Linked DNA regions of Homo sapiens: region 1 is linked to region 2. Evidence: promoter capture Hi-C in human tissues and cell types (Jung and others, 2019). All regions are on one chromosome and are shown on one strand. Each heading gives the region's core, a stretch centred on a gene start or on the middle of the fragment in contact. The rest is flanking DNA. Distances are from core to core; before and after follow the strand shown.

What was found. The method cuts DNA at HindIII sites, captures the fragments that hold promoters and counts their contacts. A contact is called where the count stands out against the background at its distance.
Region 1: a fragment that was not itself captured here is called in contact with the fragment with the promoter of MYOM2 in region 2 in 2 of the 25 tissues and cell types used here (heart left ventricle and mesendoderm cells).

What each region holds. Positions count from the first base shown.
Region 1 is chr8:1,954,966-1,960,358 of GRCh38, reverse strand. It overlaps ARHGEF10 (Rho guanine nucleotide exchange factor 10), which reads right to left. Exons shown (of 29, transcript NM_014629.4): 29 at 1,718-3,610. The coding sequence ends at 3,096. Among named protein-coding and RNA genes, the nearest start is that of KBTBD11-OT1, 14 kb to the left of the region's middle. The HindIII fragment of the contact is 4,235 bases long and covers 1-4,132 here.
Region 2 is chr8:2,041,412-2,046,865 of GRCh38, reverse strand. MYOM2 (myomesin 2) reads right to left here and starts at 1,820. Exons shown (of 37, transcript NM_003970.4): 1 at 1,698-1,820. The HindIII fragment of the contact is 6,844 bases long and covers 1-4,963 here.

The DNA of each region.
Region 1 (5,393 bases), core at 766-3,265, 87 kb after region 2:
CACTGCAGTCTTCCCAGCACACGCATGCAGGTCCCTTTGGGGAAGCATCGACCAAAGGGACCTGCAGCCTACGTGTGGGGTCCTTCCTCAGGTGAACCTGACTCCCCCTTCAGTCAGTGAGCTCCGAGCCTGTGAGCTGACTCAGGTGTGGGACTTGGACCATGACCTGCAGGTTTTTGTTCATTGCTGAGCAATGCCTCTTGGTGCCTTCCTGTCTCCGTTCGGGCTGCTGTGATGAAACACCAAGCCTGGCCACGCCCCAGAGGACAGGGGCCCCATCAGGAGGTGAGATCGTGATGCCAGCCAGGCTCCTTGTTGATCAAGTTACCGAGGGTCTACCCAGCAGATGGGGGCCCGGAAGCTGGGGGAGACGCAGCCATTTGGCCCTGGGCTCCCAAGTGTCCTGCTGTCACTGGGTTAATCCCTGTCCAGGAAGAGCCCAGGGCTCTGCAGAGGAGAGGGGGAATAAACCAGCAGTGGCAACCCCAAAGGGAGGCTTTTTCTCTCTTGTCCCATCCTCAGGGCCTAAGACAGAGCTTGGCCTCACCTCTGACACTCATCAGGTGCTCAGTAGAAGCTTGTTGCTTAGAGAACGCACTTGCCTGTCTGCACGGCTTCATTTGTTGGTGATATGCTTGTTTTCCTCATTCACTGTGAAAGCAGAACCCGCGTCCTGGCATAGCGGGAGTTCTTTGTAGCCCACGTTCTCCAACCTCTTCCTCCCTCAAAGCCCTCCCGCGTCTGCCTCTCTCAGGATCTCTGGAAGTCTCTCTTCTCTAGGAGGGCAGAGGGAGTTAAGGAGTCAGTTACACAGACCCCACTCTGTCCATGTCCCGCACCATCAATCGTGTGGAAAGATTTCTGTCCCAGCAAGTTAACTTTACACATCCATTTCATCTCTCCATGTAAGGTGTTGGCCCTGGTCTGGTAAAACACCCACAATAGGAACATTTTACAGGAAACTCATTCTACTCATAACTCAAAATGGAATGGCCAAGTGTAGGCTGGGCATGACTGTGAAGTCAGAACCACTGAATTAGGAACATCAATTGGAAGCCTCTGAACCCCCCTCCCCTTTTCTACCAAATTAGTAAATCCATCCTGCCTTCCTGGAAGAATCGCAGAGATCAGAGCCGCCATCAGAGGCTTGAAGGGTGGCAAAATTCTGCCAACCAACTCCTGGCTCACACTAGGAAACTTAGCACTTTGGGAGGCTCAGACACGAGGACTGCTTGAGGTCAGGAGTTTGACACTAGCCTGGACAACATAGCGAGACCCCATCTCTACAAAATGTTAAAAAGAAAAAAAGAGTTAGGTGTGGTTGTGTGCATCTGTAGTCCCAGCTACTCAGGAGACTGAGGTGGGAGAACTGCTTGAACCTGGGAGGTTGAGACTGCAGTGACTGTGGGAGCCCAGGGGGTTATGGTGAGCCATGATCACGCCCCTGCACTGCAACCTGTGCGACAGAGGGAGACTTTGTCTCTTCAAACAAATAAAGAACAAGTACATGAGTTGCTTGAAAGATTCCCAGTGCCTACTTCCAATTCAGAGCGCGGTGCTCCACGCAGTTGGGTGCGTTGCTGGGATTCAGACACGGAGTCTCCCCAAAGCAGCAAGTGGTGATGCAGCTAGGAACGGGCAGGCCAAGCCCCCCACCCAGCCCCCCGAGGTTGATGTCCCTTTCCACTTGACACAGAAAAGAGGCAACTCATCCTACTGCATTTTAAAATAAAAATACTTTATTGATGAAGTCAGACAGCAGCTAACAGTTTGAGAAGCTTGGGAAGAAATCACTTTCACATGGGGGATATATGCAACCTAGAACATATTTGGCTAAGTCATAAAATTAACATTTTTAGTCATCTGTAAAGTGCTGAGACATTTATTTCTGGTGCCTGCCTGTGTTAGGATTTTTTTCTTGTTATCCGTCCAGTAAGTGAAACACTGAAATACACGTTCAGCAGGATGGCGCTCACTAAGTATGCACCTTGACATGATGGTGTGCACTCATTATGCACGTTCTCACGCGGGGCTGGCTCTGCAACTGCAGAATAGAAACTGATGCGTTCTGCAGAGGAGGCGTCTGCACAACAGACAGGCTGGCCCGAGGTCACGCCTCTTGGCCTGAGTCCCGCTCAGTGACAGCAGCCAGCATGGCCTAGCACCAGGAGTCATTCGGAGCGTGCGTGCTAAAGCAGACACAGCATTCCACGTCAACAGGGGCAAGAAGCTGCACGAAGGAACTAAGCAAGACTTCTCTGCCTATCTCCTCTAATACTAAAGCACACACTTTTCTCCTGTGGATAGTCACTCTATTTATACGAGAAGGGAGGAATAATTTGGTGTTGATGCTTGAGTCCAAATGTTGATAGGCACTGAGCATTTTGGTTCAAAGCAAACATTATTTGTGAAATGCTACAGATAATACATTGACTGAAACATTAACTGTTAATTTTTTAATAGAAAAATGCAATACAAAAATATTACTTTGTTAAAATATACAGTACACACATTATACCACTTTGGAAAACCCAGCTCACTTCTGAAAGCAAATCATGCTAACTGGACTGGTAGGTGTTACCTGGCTTTTAAAATTGTTAACAAATTTTACTCTGAAATTCAAAAATATAGAATATAAATAAAAGTCGTGAATCTGAATCAGGTAAAACTTTTAAGAATTGTTAATAAATGCCTGCACTACTGAATACATATATTTTCTCATAAATTCTTAGTCTGCAAATTCTCTAATATGATACAATAGGTCTGACGCTGATGAAGTTTAACATTTAGTATTCACATATGGACTACAGCAGTCAAAAAGAATGTGGTATTTTCCCAGAACTGCACTCAATTACTCGAAAATTGCATCAGTCTTCTGCCTTCGTGAGAAGTGCTTGTAATTACTTCTGCTGTACAGAAGAGAAGGAAGGAATTGGCAGGGACACCACCATTACGCTATTGCACGTTTCTCCCCCAAATACTGTTTTTAATTTATTCCCAACCAGTGTAGACACAGCTTAACCACTCAGGCTGTAGGATTAGCTGAGAAGTCACCCTTGATTGCAAATTCTGACAGCAGAAGGCGGCCGTCCTGCTTATATATTCAGCAGAGGGATCTGCCAGACCATGACGGTCGGCGCCAGCTCTTCCTGGTGGGGCTGCCGGGCCTTCCTGTGCACCCGGCGGTGGCCCTGCCCTCCACAGACCACCAGCGCCGAGCTGGCCTTGGCTTTCTTGGCCCGGCGTGCTTTGCTTCTCAGCGAGACAGGATCCTTCAGGAGATCATAGATGGTGCTGTCCTCTGATCTGTGCTCTAGAGAGCTGGAGCCGTGAGACAAGCTCAGGGACCCAGATGAGGAGGACAGGTCGCTTTTCTGAGTCATCGATCCCAGCGAATCTCCCAACCAGATGGCTGCGTCAGGGTCACCCTGGCTCAGAGATGAACCAGCTCCTCCACTCGGAAGTGCGTCCTTCTGGTCTTCGTCCTGAGGCTCGGGGCCAGGAGCCAGGCTGTCCCTGGATTTGTCCTTGTCTTTCTCGTGCAGAGCCGTGGCCAGGACGATGAATTTGACAGGACTGTTGTGTGCATGGTAGGAGACCATGCCTCTTCCTGAAAAGGGAAACAGTTCAACAGCTGTCTTTTAAAATAGGCAAAATTTGAGACAAGGAAGCAAAAAGTGCAGGGCTTAACCCCAACGCATTCCTCCCTGCCCAAATAACAAAGCCTGTAAGTAACTTGCATACATGAATAATAAGCTACGATGAAAATATCTGGATTATATTCCTCTGGGTTTTTACTTAATGTGAAAAAGGCTTTAAAAATGATTTTCTAAAATAGAAAGTTGTGTTTTCCTCAGCACTATTTCAGTTCTAATACTCCTACTGTACTTTTCAAAGTAATAAAATAGTCATTTTTCCATTCTGCATAAAATACCTTCTTACTTACCCTATGGAAATATCCCAAATTTTCCTAAGTCTTGATTAGAAATATTAACGCCTGAAATGTGTTGGTTTGGGAAAGAAATGACTAAACTACCGGCTGCCTGCCATTTTTCATTACAAAAACGTTCTGGGGTTCAGAACAATTTAACTCTATAATTTGATTAAAATTAGGACTTTCAGTTTTCAGGTGATGTGATTCAAATTTTAAAGTCACGATCGTATCAGAAACACCTGCAGGTCTTCTTAAAGCCACACACAGCCCCGCAACCCCCACACTGATTCTGTAAGCATCACGTGGACCTGGCGTGTCTTCTGGATGCTTTGTGGGTGACATGACATATGGACAGGGGCACGTGTCCTTTCCCCAAGTGCTTTCAGATGAAACAGGCCCCAGCCCTCACCATCATCCTACTCTGGCCAAGGCAAATGACATCACTGAATCTTCCACCGTGGTGAGAGTCCATTTCCCAAAGAGGAGAGTGGCAAAGTGAAGTCTGCAGGGAGCAGGAGCTGGGGGGACTGTGCAGGGACAGGCCCGCTCATCACCTGGCGAAGCACACACCTGTGATCCCTGCACACCAGCGATGCTGCCCCTGGGCAAGCCCCCAGAAGGAGCTTCTGCCCATGTCAGCAGAGCCAGCCACACAAATATACAGAGGCTTGATGTGTAATGCAAATGGGTAGCACCTAGCTACCATCCAAAGAAACACAGTGAGTGCACGTCCTTTCAGGAAGCACCTAGCTACCCATCCAGAGAAACAGTGAGAGTGCACCTCCTTTCAGGAAGCACCTCGCTACCCATCCAGAGAAACAGTGAGAGTGCACCTCCTTTCAGGATGCACCTAGCTACCCATCCAGAGAAACAGTGAGAGTGCACCTCCTTTCAGGATGCTCCTAGCTACCCATCCAGAGAAACAGTGAGAGTGCACTTCCTTTCAGGATGCTCCTAGCTACCCATCCAGAGAAACAGTGAGAGTGCACCTCCTTTCAGGGAGCACCTAGCTACCCATCCAGAGAAACAGTGAGAGTACACCTCCTTTCAGGGAGCACCTAGCTACCCATCCAGAGAAACACAGTGAGTGCACCTCCTTTTAGGGAGCACCTAGCTACCCATCCAGAGAAACTGTGAGAGTGTGCCTCCTTCCAGGATGCACCTGGCTATCCTCCAGAGGAACAGTGAGAGTGCACCTCCTTTCAGGAAGCACCTGGCTACCCATCCAGAGAAACAGTGAGAGTGCACCTCCTTTCAGGGAGCACCTGGCTATCCTCCAGAGGAACAGTGAGAGTGCACCTCCTTTCAGGGAGCACCTGGCTATCCTCCAGAGGAACAGTGAGAGTGCACCTCCTTTCAGGGAGCACCTAGCTACCCATCCAGAAAAACAGTGAGAGTGCACCTCCTTTCAGGGAGCACCTGGCTATCCTCCAGAGGAACAGTGAGAGTGCACCTCCTT
Region 2 (5,454 bases), core at 571-3,070:
TCAGCTCCCCAATGTCCCTCTACTGTCTACATAGAAAGCTGTTTTCCTTTTTAAGGAACTATCTCAGACATGTGTTAAATACCCCCTACACACACCAACCAAAAAAAAAAAAAAGAAAAAAGAAAGAGAGAGAGAAAGAAAGCAGCTTTTCCTCGCAGGGTAGTTTTTGATGTGAGTCCCTGGGGCTCAGGCGCATTGGGAGGCTGAGACTCCAGTGGGGACCTGCTGACCTTCAGCTCAGGGGCCTCCACCTGCTCTGCTGTAAAACAGGGGGCTGAGTGAGGTGGCAGCTAACAGTCCCCCAGCTTGGACAGCCTGTGTGTAGATAATCCTGGCGCCACGCTGTACTGTTAGCACAGACCGTCCCCAGGGAAATATGACTTGCCCGGGTCACCGGTAGGGCCACGGCCGAACCCAGGCGCCAGCTGACTCTCCTGACAGCGTCCAGCCCACTTTCCACCACAGCCCAGCTCCCCGGCCACTCCCGGAATGCTCCTGACACGTTTAGGAATCATGACACCAGGATGAAACGCGAGCCTCTCCTCCAGTGCAGGGGACCACGTGTCTGATATCCCCATCCTAATTCCTTCCTGCAAACAACGTGTGGAGCCCATTCCTCATGTCACCAGGATGGGTTTTAATTTGCAAAAATGTTTGAAGTACAAAACATTGACTTCCACTTAATGAAGGAAATTGTTTGTACAGTTAAAAATGTCAAAGTCAATAAATACACCAAATTAAAGCTTTCTAGAGGGGAAAGGGACTCCCAGACACGCAGCGTTGGCCTGTGCCACAAGTGGCTAAGCCCTTGGCTCCCAAGACAAGTTTTAGCTTGGGACTTGGTTTATTAAATAACGCCTTAAATTATCTTTGTTCCACGCTTTCTTTGAGTCCTGTTTTACTTCTACTTAGTAAGAAAGGAATGTGAAATGGAGAATTAGAAAAGGCCAGGTGTTCCCAGTGATGGCAAACCCCTTCCTTCCGTTTGCCTCCGGTGCCTTCCACGTGCAACCACCCAGCCCCACTGTCTTTCTCCAGCAGGTTGCATTTCAAGAGCACGCCCTGAGAAGGCACAGCCTCTATCAGCGGAGTGGAGCTGAAGAAGTCTGAAGGGTCACAACACACCCAACAGCACAAAGAAGAAAACAGCCGTAAGAACGCTGTCATTTTTGGGCAAAAACTTGCAAGTCCTGACAAGGATTGTTCTCTTTCCCATACCGTGGATAATATAGGCTAGGTCTAAGCTGAATGACCCTCGACTCTTTTTTCCCTTAAGAAAATATCCAGTTTTATTATTTCACACCTTTATAAGTCAGCCCTCTCCTCGGGGGAGGCTTTCGTTTCTGAGAATCTCATGAAACTTGCAGACATCAGTCCACTGACTGGGGGGCCCCCTGGGGCCACGATGAGACCAGGGCTAAAACCCAAAGCACACGCCGCAGGGTGCTAAACGGCACTTAGCAAAGACCACGGCTGTGGGAAATAAAATGTTAGTTGAGCATAAAACCTCGTCAAAGAAATACAGATCCCAGAACTAATTGCTCTGTTTTCCACAGTAAAGGGTGCCTGCGACGGGGTGCACTGGCTCTCTCTTCTTGACCCTGAAGTAGAGGTACTTAGAAAATGTGAGTGCAGAAGTTACCGGTCCTCCCCTTAAAGCCACAAATTAGAAAAGGCAAGAAGAGAAAGACACTTACCCAGACAGAAAGGAAAATTGCAAGGAGGAGAGAGAATTCCTGACCACCGGCTCACCAAGCCACCCACACTCCAGCCGAGGAAGGCAGAGCTGACTCCTGCAAAGCAAGCGCCTGTGCCTCCCTCCCGTTTAAGGTCTGAGGAGCTACTATATATAGACGCCTGGGCCTGCCTCTCCCCACATCAATACCCACATCGTAAATCACCAGCCTGACCTCAGGAGGAAAAGCTTCTTGTTCAAACTGAGGGCGGGGGAAATCACGATTCAAAACTGGAACGTGTCCTTTCTGAGTCCCAAACTGCACTTTTCCCAGGAAACCGGGTGTGACACTTCAGCCCCCGACCCAGAAAGAGAGGGCAGGGCACTGACTTCCCACGCTCCCTCCCCGCAACTCTCCTCCATGAGTTCTAATCCTTACGTGTGAATTCTCAGACATATCTTCAATCCTTTCGAGCTACAGGTTCCCTGGCTCACAAATTGCAACTCCTGAATGAGTCTTTAATAATGACATGGATTTCAGTGAGCATTTGTGCCATTCGCAGGCCTGGACACCCGAGTTGAGGTCGGCTGTGGAGGGAGGGAGGTGCACAAGCCCCTGGGTTTGTGAGCGTGTGTGTGCATGTTCGTGTGTTTGTTCGTTTTTTTTTTTTTATTTCAAGAACGACTCAGGTCTTCACTCGATTGTATCTTAGGGCTATTTTAGCAAGAACTGCCTACCCAAAAGAGGAGCGGTGCCTAGTCGGCAAGTCGGGGCTTATTTATAGCCATTACCACAGACGTACACTGCGTCTACACCACACGGATAATTGCAGGGTGCCCGTCGTTTCGCACAGCGTGTGTCCAAATATAGATAACACACACCTGGCACGGTCCTGGGCTGCAGCCTGGCCAAGAGGCGGGGCCTCAAGGGGATGCCCCCATCTGAGGACCCGGAGAATCACACTCCAGCTGCACCTCACCACAGGGGCTGAGGACTTCGGCCAGCTGCTCAGCCCACGGGGGCTATGCTCCCCAGCTCTAAAACGCATGGAATAACAACTTTCCTGTAAGTTTGTTGTGACAAGTAGAGAAAATATGATAAGAGAATTGCCTTAAGAAACTCCACGTTCTCACACTGGGGTATCAGAGGCACAGCCAAGGACCAGCGAGCAGGTGGATGGAGGCGAAGATCAGATACGAGAAAGACGCGAGCACAGCCTCTTGCTGGGCCCCAGAGCGTTCTGGATGCTGGATCAGGAGGCGAGTGTTTCTGTCTTCTTCCCCTTCGTATTCTGATGGCCTAGCATTTAATTTAATTAGTGTTTGTTGAGTGATTTCTTAGTCTATTCAGGCTGCTTTAGCAAAACACCATAGACCGTGTAGCTTATAAAACACAGGAGCTTCTTTCCCACAGTTCTGGGGACTGGAAGTCCAAGATCCAGGTACCAGCAGACACTGCCTGGGGAGAGCCTTCTGGTTCTGGGACGGCGCGGTCCCTGAGTCCTCACCAAGTCAAGGGGCCAGGCCGCTCTTGGGGCCTCTGTATGAGGATACTGATCCCACTCGGGAGGTTCCACCTCCATGACCTTGTCACTTCCCTAAGGCCCCACCTCCTCACACCATCGTTTTGGGGGTTAGGGTTTTAACCCACATATTTTGGGGGGGTTGCAAACAGCAAGACCAGAGCAAGCAATGTTTACTTCCGGTTTATCAGCATCTCCTTCTCTAGCGAATCCATTTCTCAGGGACCTGGGGGACTTCCCTTCAGCCCTTCTGCCCCCCTGCCTCTGAGTGTGGCCGACACTGGAGGGGCAGTGATGGTGCCTCGTCCCCTCAGGTGGCATCTCAGTCCTCTGAGTCCCAGTCCTGGCATCTCAGTCGCCTGGGTCCCAGTCCTAGCATCTCAGGAGGGGACAATCTCATCCCGGGGAGGGGCCTCTCCTGAGAGAAGGAAGGGCCAGCACACTCCTCCTCCTTTTCTGACATTTCACGGTGGCTGTGCCCTCCTTCTGTGATATAGAAATCCAGTGCTGCGTCTAAGAAAGCCTGGATCTTTCAGCCACACCACCCAGAGAGCAGAGTGTGACCCGGGACACAGATAGGCTCCTGATGGGGACAGAGCTTCGCCTTCTGCTGGGGACAGGAGACCCCTCCCCACCCTCCTCGTAGACCCCCATCTCCCTGAGCCATGCCTGCCCCTGCCCACCCGGGATGTAGCTTCCAAAACTCCCTGGGTGAGGTGCACCTGCAGGAAGCCTGGAGCCAAGAAGGGACAAAAGACGGAGGGAGGCGGTGGGACCAGGCATGGGCCCCGCATTCTCCACCAGACACACCAGCTCTGGGGCAGACAGGCTCCTTCTTGCCGGAGTTCCTTGGGCTGACTTTCTATCATCGGCCATCAAGAGAATCCTGACTAAGACAAAGGAAGAGTCCAGCAATCTCATTTCCACAGCTCAAATTGGCAGCCTGTGAATGGAAAACAGTTGGCCTCACTGAGGATTTCCCACAACATAGAAAAGAAGATCGAAATGCAAAGAGTGACATTCTAAAACCACGTGCCTTCAATCCTGTGGAACCCCAGGCCAGACCATTCATGGGTGAAGTTATGTTCTATACAGCAACAATCCCCAACTGTTTTGGCAACAAGGACCGGTTTCGTGGAAGACAATTTTTCCAAGAACGGTGGAGAGGGGGATAGTTTTGGGATGAAACTGCTCCACCTCGGATCATCAGGCATAAGATTCTCATAAGGAGCGTCCAGCCTAGATCCCTCGCGTGTGCAGGTCACAGTAGGGTTTGTATTCCTGTGAGAATCTAAGGCCGCGGCTCTGAGAGGAGCTGGAGCTCCGGCGAGAATACTCAGTGGCCGCCATTCACCGCGCCATGCGGCCCAGCTCCTCACCGGCCACGGACCCCGAGGCTGGGGTTCAGGACCCCTGTTATATTGCACAGAGCCAAAACTGACATTCGATTCAGGAAAATCAGTTTGGATATTTGAAAGAAATAAAATTATTCTTAAGATATTTTGTTCACTTCCATGCATTCCGTCTCAGAAAACAAATTTTCTGTTTTTTAGAAATTATTTTAGAAATTATCCATGTATTTTAGAAATTATCCATCCCATGTATTTTAGAAATTATCCATCCAACAGGCCAAATATTCAGTTTTATGATTCAAAGGATGACAGCTCACCAGAAAGAGGCTTCGCAGTTGCAGCCACAGCACAGGGAGGGGCAGGGGGTCACCCTCCGTGCTCTCCCAAACCAGGGGGTGATGAGGCCAACAACAAAGGCGTCTGGTCCCCACAGAGCACGTGTGCACAGGCCGCAGAAGGGAGACTGGAAAATCTGGAGGCAGAAAACTCCCTTGAGGGCATCAGCCCCCATCAGCACTGCCTCTCATTCCCAAATCCTGAAAACCTGAATCTCAGAAAACAGCCCCACTTTAAAGAAAAGAGTTTTTTTCTTTATTTTTATTGACTGATGACTGATTGATTGAGATGGCGTCTGGCTCTGTCGCCCAGGCTGGAGTGCAGTGGTAACCTCCGACTCTTGGGTTCAAGTGAGCCTCCCACCTCAGCCTCCCAAGTAGCTGGTATTACAAGTGTGTGCCACCAGGCCCGGATATATATATATATATATATATATATATATATATATATATATATATATATATATATTTTTGGTATTTTTAGTAGAGACAAGGTTTCACCATATTGGTGAACAGGCTGGTCTCGAACTCCTGTCCTCAAGTGACCCACCCATCTCGGTCTCCCAAAG